Linked DNA regions of Homo sapiens: region 2 is linked to region 1. The links are contacts of gene promoters, found by promoter capture Hi-C in blood cells and fetal thymus (Javierre and others, 2016). All regions are on one chromosome and are shown on one strand. Each heading gives the region's core, a stretch centred on a gene start or on the middle of the fragment in contact. The rest is flanking DNA. Distances are from core to core; before and after follow the strand shown.

Region 1 (3,535 bases), core at 635-3,134:
CCATTAAAATTTGAGAGACACTGACTTCTAAGTCCACAACTATGAACTTTCTCCACCCTTACTAGCTAAGTAGACTTAGGCAAATTATTTAACTTTTATGGAATCTACTTCTTTGTCTGTAAAAAGGGAACTAATATCCACTTTAAGGTCTTACTGCGAGAATGTATAGTTAAGAAGATTTGATGGAGCCGGGCGCAGTGGCTCATGCCTGTAATCCCAGCACTTTGGGAGGTAGAGGCGGGCAGATCACCTGAGGTTAGGAGTTCGAGACCAGCCTGGCCAACATGGTGAAACTCTGTCTCTACTAAAAAAAAAAAAAAAAAAAATAGCCAGGCATGGTGGTGCATGCCTGTAGTCCCAGCTACTTGGGAGGCTGAGGCAGGAGAATCGCTTGAACCTGGGAGGTGGGGGTTGCAGTGAGCCAAGATTGTGCCACTGCACTCCAGCCAAGCGACAGAGTGAGACTCTGTCTCAAAAAAAAAAAAAAAGAAAAGAAAAGAAAAGAAAGAAGATTTGATGGAAGACAATTTGGAAAGTGTTGTAAGGTCCACGGACTCTACTCACAAAGTCTCCCAAACTTGCTTGCTGATAGGAATGGACACGCTGGTTACATAAGCTAATCCCAGGTGCCCGATCCCCGGAAATTCTGATTCAGTGTTTCCTAATGGACCCTGGGAGTCTGCACCTTTAATAACACATTCTAGGCTCCAGGTAAGTGTGGTGATCAGGCAAGTTTGAATTTAGCAAAGGAATACAGGATGCAGTACTCCTGTCCAGCAGGACTCAGATTTCTGGTTTCTGATTCTAGATCTGACGCTATTCCACTTGGGCAAGCAGTTGCACCTTTCTGAACCTTTTTACTCATCTGTATACCTGTTCAATATAACCTACAGGTAGGTCTATGGTGGACCGAAGGCAAATTATATTTGGGGTGAAGGGGCTCCTGATCTTAGTATTTTATGTTGTCGTAATGTGGATTAATTAGACATAATTAATTTATTAACAATTAATTAATTAGACATAAGCAAAATTGAGATTGAAGGGGGTGTTGGCAGATCATCATTTTGGCTGAGGACATGAGAAACACACTGGAAATGCTTTGTGATAAAATTAACTGAATATTAATTGTAGGACTGTGCCTTGTCTATCCTGCTACCTAGAGCCACTGAGCTTTGCAATCCTCTTAGGAGTGTGGCTTACCTTTAGGTGGTCACCCTCAACTACTCTGGTCACACTGAGAGCTGTGAAAACCTCGAGAAAAGTTAAAAACATACATGTTGGGAGACAGGGGGTTTGGATGAGGGCCCTAAATTCGATGTTTAAGCCTAGGGTCCTTACTGGCGAACACTTTCAGTAATGTCTGTGTGCAACAGAAACATTTCTCTTGGCATTAAAAAAAAAAAAAGAAAGAAAGAAAGGATGTATTCCCTTAGCTTCAGGTGGCATTCACGAAGTTGACAGAGCCAGAACACCTCCTAACTGGGGAGTTTCGGGACCTTTAGGGCGCAGAGACTGCCTGACCTCGTCGTGGGCGTAAATCAAGCTTCCCCAGCGCTTAACTTTACAATTTTCAGCTTACGCTTGGCTGCAGCTGCGCACAATCCGCGCAGAAGCAGGGGTTCCGCTGACAAACGTGAACGTACAGAACGTAGAAACCTTTTAACGCTAATATGCAGTTTCCCTGTATGGCTGTTGTGCATTATTAATCTAGGTATTGCGTATTTAGTTTAGGAAACACGAATACTACATGATAAATGAGGTAAAATGGATTGTGACTGGGACCTCAGCTTCTCCGTCGCCTCCACTCCTCCCAGCTCAGGAAAGACCAGCCCACCAAGACGTGCGTCCTCCGCGTTTGAGTCGCTTCGGCACCCGTAGTTGTGAACTTTGACAGCGGCTGGTCCCCGGAAGTTGGACGCATGCGCCGTTTCTCTGCATGGTGTGCGTTCTCGTTCTAGCTGCGGCCGCAGGAGCTGTGGCGGTTTTCCTAATCCTGCGAATATGGGTAGTGCTTCGTTCCATGGACGTTACGCCCCGGGAGTCTCTCAGTATCTTGGTAGTGGCTGGGTCCGGTAAGTATCGAGGAGGCGACTGTCGGACTTGGGTTGGTCACTACAAACCCCAGAGTGCACCGCGACGCTCTTCCCTGGTACCCTTAGCACTTCTTGGAGTGTTGCATGCAGAGATTTGTAGTTTCTCTGCCTTGCCGGAACCGGGCAGTCCAGCCAGGGTAGGGGCTGGTTTGCTGACGCGGCCCAGAGGTTTTTTTTATGACAAGTAATTTACACTTGTCTATAATTAAGACTCTCTGTAGCGTATATTTTTCAAACAATTAGTGAACAGAGAACGTAGAAGCCTTTTGATGCAAACATGCAGTTTCCCCGTATGGCTGTTGTGCATTATTAATCTAGGTATTGCGTATTTAGTTTAGGAAACACGAATGCTACATGACAAATGAGGCAAAATGAATTGTCACATTTATAAATATACAAAGTCCAAGAGGATAAAAACAATGATCTACGGGCTGTAGAACAATACACACGCGGTGGCAGAGTGTGAGCAACACACTGACCTGTCAGGTAATACAATCTAAATCCACCAACTCTGTAGGTGCTTACAATTTTAAATACACATATTTGACAGGGACAGACAGACACACACAGACACAATGTAAACATTTGGGTATGGCAGGAGATTGCATCCAGATAGAACATGTATAGTATGAGTAAATGTACTAAGTTTATGTTCAAGTATAACGCATTACTTTATTCACTTAATCTGTTTTGAGCTGTTAGAAAGACCAAACACTAAACTAACCTCTGGAAATAACAAAACTGACTAACATTACTTGCCACGGAGTGCTGACTCCGTGCTAAGTCCTGTGAGAGATGCAAAGATACAGCAGTAAATGAAATAGAGAATACAAAAAAACTAACAGAAAATAAATCAAAATGAGTATTTGCCACAATGAGATAAATGCTATAATCTTGTAATAATTGTGTAAGAAGTACAAATTGCTATGGCAGTCTTCAGGAAGGGCACTACTTTATCAGGTCTTAAAAAACAGACAGCTTCCTGGAAGAAATGATGCTAAACTGAAACTTGAAAGATGACCCAGAATTAGTCAGATGAGGGACAGCCAGGGTTTCGAGGGCTGGGAGGATGTGAAAAGAAGGTGATAACACTTGGAATGACCAGAGTTGAGAGAACACTATCGTGTAGAGTTCAATGTAGGGAGGTAAACTGAGTCCAGATTGTAAAGAGTATTTAAAATCTTGCTTTTTTTCTTTTTTATACAGAGTCTCACGCTGTTGCCCAGGCTGGAGGGCAGTGGCGCAGTCTCAGCTCACTGCAACTCCACCTCCCAAATTCAAGCCATTCTCCTGCCTCAGCCTCCCGAGTAGCTGGGATTACAGGCGCACCACCACACTCAGCTAATTTTTGTATTTTTAGTACAGACAGTGTTTCACCATGTTGACCAAGGCTGGTCTTGAACTTCCGACCTCAAGTGATCCTCCTGCCTCAGCATCCCAAA
Region 2 (3,535 bases), core at 649-3,148, 1.2 Mb after region 1:
GAAGAAAAGAGAGAAGAATAAAATAGATGCAATAAAAAATGATAAAGGGGATATCACCACTGATCCCACAGAAAATACAAACTACCATCAGAGAATACTATAAACACCTGAATAGACCAATAACAGGTTCTGAAATTGAGGCAATAATTAATAGCCTACCAACCAAAAAAAGTCCAGGACCAGACAGATTCACAGCCAAATTCTACCAGAGGTACAAAGAGGAGCTGGTACCATTCCTTCTGAAACTATTCCAATCAATAGAAAAAGAGGGAATCCTTCCTAACTCATTTTATGAAGCCAGCATCATCCTAATACCAAAGCCTGGCAAAGACACACACAAAAAAGAGAATTTTATACCAATATCCCTGATGAACATCAATGTGAAAATCCTCAATAAAATACTGGCAAACTGAATCCAGTAGCACATCAAAAAGCTTATCCACCACGATCAAGTTGGCTTCATCCCTGGGATGCAAGGCTGGTTCAACATACGCAAATCAATAAAAGTAATCCATCACATAAACAGAACGAAAGACAAAAACCACATGATTATCTCAATAGATGCAGAAAAGGCCTTTGACAAAATTCAACAGCCCTTCATGCTAAAAACTCTCAATAAACTCGGTATTCGTGGAATGTATCTCAAAATAATAAGAGCTATTTATGACAAACCCACAGCCAATATCATACTGAATGGGCAAAAACTGGAAGCATTCCCTTTGAAAACTGGCACAAGACAGGGATGCCCTCTCTCAACACTCCTATTCCACATAGTGTTGGAAGTTCTGGCCAGGGCAATCAGGCAAGAGAAAGAAATAAAGGGTATTCAGATAGGAAAAGAGGAAGTCAAATTGTCCCTGTTTGCAGATGACATGATTGTATATTTAGAAAACCCCATCATCTCAGCCCAAAATCTCCTTAAGCTGATAAGCAACTTCAGCAAAGTCTCAGGATACAAATTCAATGTGCAAAAATCACAAGCATTCCTCTACACCAATAACAGACAAACAGAGAGCCAAATCATGAGAGAACTGCCATTCACAATTGCTTTGAAAAGAATAAAATACCTAGGAATCCATCTTACAAGGGATGAGACGGACCTCTTCAAGGAGAACTACAAACCACTGCTCAACAAAATAAAAGAGGACACAAACAAACGGAAGAACATTCCATGCTCATGGATAGGAAGAAACAATAGTGTGAAAATGGCCATACTGCCCAAGGTAATTTATAGATTCAATGCCATCCCCATCAAGCTACCAATGACTTTCTTCACAGAATGGGAAAAAACTACTTTAAAGTTCATATGGAACCAAAAAAGAGCCTGCATTGCCAAGACAATCCTAAGCAAAAAGAACAAAGCTGGAGGCATCATGCTACCTGACTTCAAACCATACTACAAGGCTACAGTAACCAAAACAGCATGGTACAAAAGAGAGATACAGACCAATGGAACAGAATAGAGGCCTCAGAAATAACACCACACATCTACAACCATCTGATCTTTGACAAACCTGACAAAAACAAGAAATGGGGAAAGGATTCCCTATTTAATAAATGGTGCTGGGGAAATTGGCTAGCCATATGTAGAAAGCTGAAACTGGATCCCTTCCTTACACCTTATACAAAAATTAATTCAAGATGGATTAAAGACTTAAATGTTATACCTAAAACCATAAAAACCCTAGAAGAAAACCTAGGAAATACCACTCAGGACATAGGCATGGGCAAGGACTTCATGACTAAAACACCAAAAGCAATGGCAACAAAAGCCAAAATAGACAAATGGGATCTAATTAAACTAAAGAGCTTCTGCACAGCAAAAGAAACTACCATCAGAGTGAACAGGCAACCTACAGAATGGGAGAAAATTTTTGCAATCTACCCATCTGACAAAGGGCTAATATCCAGAATCTACAAAGAACTTAAATTTACAAGAAAAAATCAAACAACCCCATCAAAAAGTGGGCAAAGTATATGAACAGACACTTTTCAAAAGAAGACATTTATGCAGCCAACAGACACATGAAAAAATGCTTATCATCACTGGTCATCAGAGAAATGCAAATCAAAACCATAATGAGATACCATCTCACACCAGTTAGAATGGCAATCATTAAAAAGTCAGGAAACAACAGGTGCTGGAGAGGATGTGGAGAACTAGGAACACTTTTACACTGTCAGTGGTAGTGTAAACTAGTTCAACATTGTGGAAGACAGTGTGGTGACTCCTCAAGGGCCTAGAACTAGAAATACCATTTGACCTAGCGATCTCATTACTGGGTATATACCCAAAGGATTATAAATCATGCTACTATAAAGACACATGCACAGGTATGTTTATTTTGGCACTATTCACAATAGCAAAGACTTGGAACCAACCCAAATGTCCATCAATGATAGACTGGATTAAGAAAATGTGGCACATACACACCATGGAATACTATGCAGCCATCAAAAAGGATGAGTTCATGTCCTTTGTAGGGAATGGATGAAGCTGGAAACCATCATTCTGAGCAAATTGTCGCAAGGACAGAAAACCAAACGCTGCATGTTCTCACTCATAGGTGGGAATTGAACCATGAGAACACTTGGACACAGGGTGGGAAACATCACACACTGGGGCCTGTCATGGGGTGGGGGGTTGGCGGAGGGATAGCATTAGGAGAAATACCTAATGTAAATAACGAATTAATGGGTGCAGCAAACCAACATGGCACTTGTATACATATGTAACAAACCTGCACATTGTGCACATGTACCCTAGAACTTAAAGTATTATAAAACAAAAAGTATAGACAAATCTTATTCAATCTTGAGTTCAGAAGATAGTTATATCGGGTTTCATTATAGTATTCTTGCTATTTTTGTATATGTTGGAATTATTTACAACAAATGTTAATTGTATGTTACAGTGCATCAAAATGTGTTTAAGTAGTGGTGGTGCTTGTGGGTAGCTCTTTCACTATAATAAAAAATCAATATCCAAAAAAAAAAAAAAAAAGCAGCGCAAGCTCGTTCAATGAACTCTTACCATCATTCATTCAGCCAACAAATATTTACTCAACATCAGGCTCAATTTCTAACTTCCTAGAAAGATCTTTTTTCCCATCCCTCCCCTAATTCTTACCATTTTACCAACTGGTTCATCTCTCTTTTCAATAGCTATATTGTCCCCGCTTATAATGAGAATCTCATTTTGCCTTTAATAATCTGATTCACCTCAACGAATGTGAAAGATTGTTGAGGAAAGCTCAATACATGTTCAATTTGATGTTTATACCGAGTCCACCACCACACGTGAAATTTAATAGGGGTAAATAATCTCGACCACCTCTAAAGGGGTGGGTGATAAAAGCTTTCTGTGATCTCACCGGCTCAAGTGTCCTCTTTAATCTGAATTCATCTGGAGAATAACTGCCCTATGATGTTCTTATAAAATTACTTGTTTCCTGTGCTTAGAACTTGTCTCTGGGTAGAGTGTACGCGTCTCAAGGGCAAAGACTCAGTCTTGTTCGTTGACTTCACACACTGC

What was found. The method cuts DNA at HindIII sites, captures the fragments that hold promoters and counts their contacts. A CHiCAGO score of 5 or more calls a contact.
Region 2: a fragment that was not itself captured here is called in contact with the fragment with the promoter of ALG14 in region 1 in 3 of 17 cell types (activated CD4 T cells, naive CD8 T cells and total CD8 T cells); the score reaches 8.6 in activated CD4 T cells.

Annotation. Positions count from the first base shown.
Region 1 is chr1:95,071,300-95,074,834 of GRCh38, reverse strand. ALG14 (ALG14 UDP-N-acetylglucosaminyltransferase subunit) reads left to right here and starts at 1,884. Exons shown (of 4, transcript NM_144988.4): 1 at 1,884-2,072. The coding sequence starts at 1,937. RefSeq lists enhancers at 1,763-2,122, 2,363-2,442. The HindIII fragment of the contact is 2,572 bases long and covers 1,546-3,535 here.
Region 2 is chr1:93,909,994-93,913,528 of GRCh38, reverse strand. It overlaps LOC124904221 (a long non-coding RNA gene), which reads right to left. Exons shown (of 2, transcript XR_007066230.1): 1 at 3,375-3,535. Among named protein-coding and RNA genes, the nearest start is that of GCLM, 2.3 kb to the right of the region's middle. The HindIII fragment of the contact is 2,924 bases long and covers 437-3,360 here.